2 separate regions of the Homo sapiens genome follow, and region 1 is linked to region 2. Evidence: promoter capture Hi-C in human tissues and cell types (Jung and others, 2019). All regions are on one chromosome and are shown on one strand. Each heading gives the region's core, a stretch centred on a gene start or on the middle of the fragment in contact. The rest is flanking DNA. Distances are from core to core; before and after follow the strand shown. Region 1 overlaps LOC105371631 (a long non-coding RNA gene). Region 2 holds the start of SOAT1 (sterol O-acyltransferase 1).

Region 1 (3,961 bases), core at 1,205-3,704, 770 kb before region 2:
AGCTGCTCCCCTAAAGGAAGCTCGTCACCTCCTGACAGCCAATTCTATTGACCCTTCTGCAGCTCTTGTTCTTCTGATTGAGTTCCTGCTTTTGACCCTGGTGAGTAATCGATCTTCCTTGAATTCCCCGGTTTCCTTGACTCCTGTTCTACCCCTAACTTCTTTTGTATCTCTCTTGGTTACTCTTCCTCCACTGTCTTAGTAGTTTGGGCTACTATATCAAAATATCGTAAATGGAGCAGCCTATAAACTACAGAGATTTATTTCTCACAGTCCTGCAGGCTGTAAAGTTCAAGCTCAAGGCACCGGCAGATCTGGTTTCTAATGCAGGCATTTCCTGGGTCACAGATGGCATCTTCTCATGTGTCTTCACATGGTAGATGGGGCAAGAGGTCTCTCTTTTATAAGAGGCACTAATTCCATTCGTGAGGGTGCTGCCATCATGACCCAATCCCCCAACTCTAATACCATCCATCATCCCCTTGGAGGTTAGGTTTCAGCATACAAGTTCTGAGGGACATAAACTTTCAGACCATAGCATCTGCCTCCATTCTCAACATGGATGACCCCTAGGCTTTTCCCTTAATTACCTGACATTTTTCTAGGGACCTACTTCACTTCCTTCTTGGAGTTGGAGGGTAGAAATTGAGTCTGTCTCACTCAACACAGCAGCCCCAGAATTAACACACTGCTCAGTGAATGAGTATGTAGCACTCAGTATCAACCCTCAGGACCAGGAGGTCGAAACCAAATTGACACAGGGCCTCCTGAAAGAGATCAAACTGGCTCTGGAATCTAGAGTTTAGATTAATTTATTAATGGGTAAAAAGACAAATGAGCTGGAACAAAAAAAGTCCGTGTGACTCCAAAACCCAACCCCTGGTCTTGTTCTTCATGTTCAGGAACACTGACTTCACATTTCTTTCTTAACTGAGTGTTCATAATCATAACTTGATTGATGATCAAATGTCTCTCCCACCTCCTTTCTCATCAGTATTCATATGGCAGCTTGTTATTCCTCCCAGGTAAACTGGTTGAGAGGGAATATAAATTTGTTTAAGAGGTACCAATGTCAACTTTGCTCTAAAGCATCATGAACTTGGCCAGCTGCGGTGGCTCATGACTGTAATCCCAGCACTTTGGGAGGCCAAGGTGGGTGGATCACCTGAGGTCAGGAGTTTGAGACCAGCCTGACCAACATAGAGAAACCCCATCTCTACTAAAAATACAAAAATTAGCCTGGCATGGTGGTGGGCCCCTGTAATCCCAGCTACTTCGGAGGCTAAGGCAGGAGAATCACTTAATCCCGGGAGGCAGAGGTTGCAGTGAGCCGAGATTGCACCATCGCACTCCAGCCTGGGGGACAGAGTGAGACTCCATCTCAAAAAAAAAAAAAAAAGAAAGAAAAGAAGCATGAACTTGACCAGTGGCCTCAAATCACGGTCTCTGGCAGGTGACCCCAAGCCTTGGACTCAAGCCCTGACCTGTCACCCAAGCTTGGATCTACCTGTTGTTTCAGGGCCTCATCATCCTGTCAACTTCAACACAGCCAAAACCAAACTTCCCCGTGTCCCCAAACCCTTCTCTGTCTGACTTGCTGATGGGAGTCCTTGTCTTTGCTCAGTTCTCTGACAGCTAGAGCACAGGCTGATCTCCAGCCAAAGGTTGGACCTCATCCCCCCACAGGGCTTTCACCAGCCTGTCTGTTTGCCTGTCCACTTGGTGCCCTGGACTAAACATCCCTGGAGGAAACCTGGAGTGCTGTGGAGCTCAGAGCCCCCTGCCCTGAGCAGCTGGTCCCAGAGCTCCTTTGGTTATTTTGAGGATTTCTGAGAATACAGGTAAAGTACCTGTTACAAAGCTTCCTCTTTCCTCTTCGATGGCTTCCTCCATGACATATCTTTGATGGCTTCTTAGGGCCTTTTCCGAAGAGCTGAGGATGAAAAAAGAGGATGTGAGTCCCTTAAGGGCAGAGACTGTGTAGAATTCATTGATTATGCCCTGCCCCTGCCACTTGATGGCTGCGTGGCTGTGGAGAGCATGCCCTTTTTCTGCCCTTGGTACCACGTTAGTCATTAAAGCTTCACATCTTCTCCATCTCCCATAGCAAATGAGCACCTGGGTCCCATGGCCTTTAACCATTTCAAATGTTTATTCCTGAATTCTCCCCTCTCCCATACACACTCTAATCCAAGCTCTTAGTGTCTGGATCCTGAGCTATGTCCAGTAGCTTCTGACCCAGTCCTCTTGACTCCAGGAGTTTCTTCTCACAGCCTGGAATCCATTGTCCACGCCACTTCCAGAGATTTCCTCCCGAACTACTACTTTACTCTGCAACTCACCGTCTTGCTCAAAAACCATCCCCAGGGCTGATTACTGGTGGGATAACAGACACACTCTTTAACCTGCCGTTCAAGGCCTTGCATTTCCCATATTATTTTTCACCTTTTCTCCCCCGTTCCTATCTGTAAACCCTACACTCTAGGGTCCCAAATGTGCCCTTCACATTCCCATATCCTTGCCTTCACTCCCCTTCTTCTCTGAGCTCCAGGAATCTCCCATCATCCCCGCTGCACTGCCCTCTGCTCTAACAGCTCCTCATTGACCCAAGGAATAGGTCACTCGGCCGTGTAGAGGTGTTTCCCATCTTACTGTTCCAACCTGCATATGTCTTTCCTCTCCATGCAGATTGTCAGTTTCTAGAGGCAGAGCTTATGCTGTCTTCATCTTCATCCTCAGCATGGTGGTCAGAACCCTGCACTTGGCAGGGGCTGAGGAAAAATTTTTTGGTTGAACTTTTGCTGCCTAGCCTGACAGATTCACATGTTGGCCCTTCTGACCCACTCCTGCCCTCTTGGCTCTGTGGCCTTGGGACTGTGGACATCCCCGAGGGTCCTGGGGTGCCAACAGGGGTCTCCTGTCACATGGAGCCCTCCGGGACTGTGCAGGTTTGGGGGCGATCCCAAGAAAATTCTCCATACTATCCAGTGTCCATCCCAGATCATATCTGGAAATATACATACATCACCATGGTGCCAGGCTGGCAGACGGGATGAGCAAGGCTGCCTCCCAGCCTACGTAGGTGCCAGTTTTAAGAACAGAAGCAAAGTCATCAGGGAAACTGAGCTGCCACAATCTGCTGAGGCACTAACTTCTTTATGGAAATGATGCTGCAGCTCTAATTCAGTGCCGAGGACTGGTGGCAGTGGTCTCTGCCTTCCCCATCCCTTGATCTTTCCCAAGCCCCCTCATGCCCCAGTCCCATGTCACCCAACTCACAGGCAACAGGACATCTGTGTGTGTTTCAGGGACAGGCTTGCCTGGCTGTCAAAAAGCTGTTTCCTGTGCCCCTGGGGAGAGACCTGCAGGGAGCCACCGCCAGACGTTCCTGCTGACACTGCGCACAGGCCAGCTTTACTGGCAAGCTTGTGCTTTATTCGTAGGTCTCAATGTCACCTCCTCTGGGACAGAATGATACTTAATTTTGTCTCTTTTCCTAAAAATACTATTCCTGTCCTGTGTACAGAGCCATGGTGGGCATCTCCCTGACCCAGGCCCCTACTTCTGTGCCATGGGACCCTGCCCTCCTGGACATAATCAGGAGCCGGTTGACTGGACCGGGGTGGATGCCAAACCCAGCTCACCCAGTTGGATTCCTTTCCCTGGGGATTTGGAACTGGAATTTGGTGAGAGCTCAGTTGGCCCCAGAATTGAAGATATGTAACTGGGAGCTGGGTTGCCATCTGCCACCGTTAGCTGAAGATGCAGAAAAAGCTGATCTGTTGGAAAAGAAAACCAGTTCACAGAAAGAGAAGAATGAAGTGGAGGAGTGGAGGGAAAGGCCCTGCAATCCAAAGAGGGGGCTGCAAGAGCCACTCTCCGGGTCCCAGGCCCTCTTGGTCCAGTTGTAGTTCCCACCTTAGCTCTGAGGGACCCCCTGGCCTCTTGGACTATATCACCC
Region 2 (4,287 bases), core at 626-3,125:
CCTCTTATCTCAGCCTCCCGAGTAGCTGGGACCATAGGGGCCTGCCACAATTCCCAGCAAATTTTGTTGTCATTGTTGTTGTTGTTGTTGTTGTTTTTAAATTCTGTAGAGAGGGAGTCTCACTATGTTGCTCAGGCTGGTCTTGGACTCCTGGCCTCAAAGTGATCCTCCTGCCTCAGCCTCCCAAAGTGCTGGGATTATAGGCTTGAGCCACCTGTTTGTTTCCTTTCATACCTAGTCCTGCAGAACATAAGCCTCTAAGTGCAGGGGCTTCTTCTGTTTATTCACCACTGTATTTCTAGCACCAAGAATACTATCAATATTTTTTGAATGAATGAATCAAACAGTGAAAAGGCCAGTCATCTTGGTGTATATAGAAGGTAGCCAACAGAGACCCAATAGAAATGAGTGCCTATGTTCCTACTGCTCTATAACTAGTGGGAGTGGGGAGGGGAAGCAGCTGGGGGTCTACCAGACCCTGTCACCAACTAGTCAGCACACGTGGCAATCACAGTTGTAGAAGAGGCCAAACGGAGCAGATCTGCCAATGACAGCCAGTACTAAACTCGACTGGATGCTGAGGGCCATTTCTGCTTTGAGTGAACAGTGCAGCCTGCTGGGTGGCCAAGGGAACGTGTACAAATCCACTTTGTTTAAAGGACCCAGAGAGTAGTCAGTTCTGCTAAACCTCATCTGTTTGTTCAGGGATTTTTGTCCTGGGGAGGAGTGGGGAAGAAGCGATTAGTCAGGCCAGGCTAGCTGGTATTAGTTTGCAGGCTGTGAGTGCGACTCTTCAGTCTCTGCTCCTCTCATCATTGCCTTTTCACCTACCTTTACCCTAAATTTACGTACACCTCTGCCTTCACAAATTCCAAGCGATTAACTGTTGTATTTAATCTCTGTCCCAAATCTCTCTGCATCATTCTTCTTTTGATTATGAAGTCACGAGGGCCCTTTGTTTATTTTATTTTTAAAACTTTTTTTGAGAAGGAGTTTAGCTCTTATTGCCCAGGCTGGAGTGCAATGGCACAATCTAGGCTCACTGCAACCTCTGGCTTCCGGGTTCAAGCAATCCTCCTGCCTCAGCCTCCCGAATAGCTGGGATTACAGGCGCGCGCCACCAAGCCCGGCTAATTTTTTGTATTTAGTAGAGACGGGGTTTCACCATGTTGGTCAGGCTGGTCTCGATCCTAACCTCAGGTGACCCAGCCACCTCGGTCTCCCAAAGTGTTGGGATTACAGGCGTGAGCCACCGCACCTGGCCTCAAGGGCCCTTAAATATTACTTAGTTGTTCCATTATTTGGTGTGTTTTATTATTTGGTGCAGGTTTTTTCCCCTTATCTAGTTTGAATGTTGCTGAAGGACGCTGGTTTTCAAACGGTAAGGAATCTCCTGATAAAGGCACGAATCTTGGTGTGCAGATAAGCCAGCGATTCTTGCTTCTGGCTAGTTCTACGTTGTTCCTGGATGGTCAGTTCAAACTGCAATGATCCACAGCTCCAGAAGCGGCTTCTTCCAGTCGGCCTAGGAGCCAAACGCCCCTGCAGCTCCATGCTACCACGCAGGGTGCCGTTTCGGGCTTGCAGGGAGTTGTCGCAGTCCCGTTTTGGCTGCACATTCTACTGCTGGGGTGGAAGTGTCAAGCAAGATGTTGTCGCCGGTATCATGATGTCCGGGTGAGAAGCTTCCTTGGCAGGTTGCCAGGGCCAGCCTGCGAGCACTGGCGCCGGGGACCCGCGCGCCCGGGAAGGGGCGGGGAGGTGGGCGGAGCCTGGCAACCTGGGGACCACCAATAGGATGCTCAGCCGGAGGTGGCCCTGCGCGTGACGCAGCGGTGCTCGGAGGCAGGGGGCGTAGGGGCCGGGCTGTCCGGCGCTTTAGCTTAGCAGGCGACGTTGCGGGCCCTGGGCGCCAGGAGAGCTTCCCGGAGTCGACCTTCCTGCTGGCTGCTCTGTGACCGCTTCCCGGCTCTGCCCTCTTGGCCGAAGTGCCCGCTGCCGGGCGCGGGCCTCAGGTAACGGTGGTGCTCCCGCGCCTCTCCTCGCTTCCCGCTTGGGTCCACCGGCCTCAGCCCGCGGGGAAGGGAGAAGCGGTGGCGGCAGCAGCTCCGGCCCGGCCTTGTCCTGGGCTGTGCTGCGGAGAAGGCGAGGCTCGGCGACTGCAGGGGAGTTGGGGAGGGGAGGGCGGGAAAGTTACCGTCAGGCGCCCGGGTCACGGGCAGCCTTTTAAACCCTGCACGCTGGTTTGGTGTTCCGCAAATCTCGTGGCATCTCTCAAGTCAGTAGTAAAGAAAGTTAGGAATTAGAAGACGTTTTATTCTTTAAAAAGCGAAACCAAAAATGCACTCAGGAAGTCAGCTTTTTAATGATTTAGAGAAAATGTGTGAAGGGAAGGATGGTATTAGCAAGACATGAAAATCTGTAGGGGCACCAGAACCTTTAATCAAGCTCATGTTTTATTGTAAAATATTAGGATGTAGGTAAGTTTCTGTTTTCCCTAAGTGTTAATGGTCATGTAATTTAAATAATATGTATATTGAAAGGTTATTTCTAAGTGAGAAACAACTATATAAACTTTATTCTCCGTATATATATTTAGGTTAAGTTCGTTGGTCACTTTTGTTTGTTTGAGACGGAGTCTCGCTGTGTCGCAAGGCTGGAGTGCAGTGGCGCAATCTCGGCTCACTGCAACCTCTGCCTCCCGGGTTCAAGCGATTCTTGTGCCTCAGCCTCCTGAGTAGCTGGGATTACAGGCGTGCGCCACCACGCCCAGGTAATTTTTGTAGTTTTAGTAGAGACGGGGTTTCACCATGTTGGACCAGGTTGGTCTCAAACTCCTGACCTCAAGTGATCCGCCCGCTTCGGCCTCCCAAAGTGCTGGGATTACAGGCGTGAGCCACCGCGCCTGGCCTGTTGGTCACTTTTTAATATTTAAGTGGCTGCCACCTGTTTAAACCACTTTTTTCTTTTTTTCAGCCTGCTTGATTTCCTCTTCCTTGAAGTAGAATTCAATTTGAAGCTTTTTTTTTTTCTTTTTAAAAGTTGGGCGGTGTCAGTGAATGACTTGTTAAGGAAGTCTGTGCGTTGTCTGGGTGTGAGAATGGGTTTTGGAAGGAGCTCTGTGGCACTGAATTATCGTTTAGAAATGCACGTGTTTTAGTGAATCACATGCTTAGAATGCATCTGAGGTTTCGCAGTCTTTTAGGATAAAGACCTACTGAGTGAGCACACTCTATCTCTGGTTCATTTGGCCCACTTTCCTTCTGGCTTTCCAGGTTCATGCCACACTGGCTTTATTTTTGTTACTGGAAAGCTTCATTTTCTTTCCTCTCTTGGCTTTTAGGAGTTTCCTCCACCTCTAATGCTGTATTCTCTCCCTCCCTCCAACTCTTATACCTGCCTCAGATATCAGCCCACATATCACTTCCTCTGGAAATCACCCCATCCCCATTAAGCCCTCCATGAACTCTTTATTCTCCTTAGCAGAAGTTGATCATTAATTGTAATGAATTAGTTGCTTTGTTTCCTCTGCTAGTGCATTTCATGAAGGCTGGTTTAGCCTGTTGTAATTTTCAGGGTCTGGTCCAGCACTTGGCCCAGAGAAAGAATGAATAAGTTGGTGGACAGAGGAAGGAACTTTTGAATGAGAAATACAGTGATCCCCACTTAACTGCTTTCTGTAGTTTCAGCTACCTGAGGTGCGAAACAGAGTACAATAAGACATTTCGAGAGATACCATGTTCAAGTGAATTTTAATACAGTATATTGTTAATCTCTTACTGTGCCTAACTTTTTGAAACTTTGCCTCCCAGGTTCAAGGGATATTCATGCCCCAGCCTCCCAAGTAGCTGGGATTACAGGCGTGTCCCAGTACGCCCGGCTAATTTTTTTTTTTTTTTTTGAGATGGAGTTTGGCGCTTGTTGCCCAGGCTGGAATGGCACGATCTCGGCTCCCCGCAACCTCCGCCTCCCGGGTTCAAGCGATTCTCCGCCTCAGCCTCCCAAGTAGCTGGGATTACGGGCATGTGCTACCACGCCCGGCTAATTTTTTTTTTTTTTTTTTTTTTTTTTTTTTTTTTTAGTAAAGACTGATCAGATCTTACTGGTCAGGCTGGTCTCGAACTTCCAACCTCAGGTGATCCACCCGCCTCAGCCTCCCAAAGTGCTGGGATTACAGGCGTGAGCCACCGCGCCCAGCTCACCCGGCTAATTTTTGTATTTTTAGTAGAGACAGGGAGGGTTTCACTGTGTTGGCCAGACTGGTCTCAAACTCCTGATCTCAGATGA

The links. Contacts are between HindIII fragments. The study calls those that stand out against the background at their distance.
Region 1: a fragment that was not itself captured here is called in contact with the fragment with the promoter of SOAT1 in region 2 in 2 of the 25 tissues and cell types used here (lymphoblastoid cells and mesenchymal stem cells).

What each region holds. Positions count from the first base shown.
Region 1 is chr1:178,525,369-178,529,329 of GRCh38, forward strand. LOC105371631 (a long non-coding RNA gene) reads right to left here. Exons shown (of 5, transcript XR_922310.3): 2 at 3,645-3,779; 3 at 2,662-2,771; 4 at 1,851-1,933; 5 at 797-1,030. Among named protein-coding and RNA genes, the nearest start is that of TEX35, 14 kb to the left of the region's middle. The HindIII fragment of the contact is 4,114 bases long and covers 398-3,961 here.
Region 2 is chr1:179,291,922-179,296,208 of GRCh38, forward strand. SOAT1 (sterol O-acyltransferase 1) reads left to right here and starts at 1,876. Exons shown (of 16, transcript NM_003101.6): 1 at 1,876-2,015. RefSeq lists a silencer at 1,671-1,860 and an enhancer at 2,073-2,580. The HindIII fragment of the contact is 6,238 bases long and covers 786-4,287 here.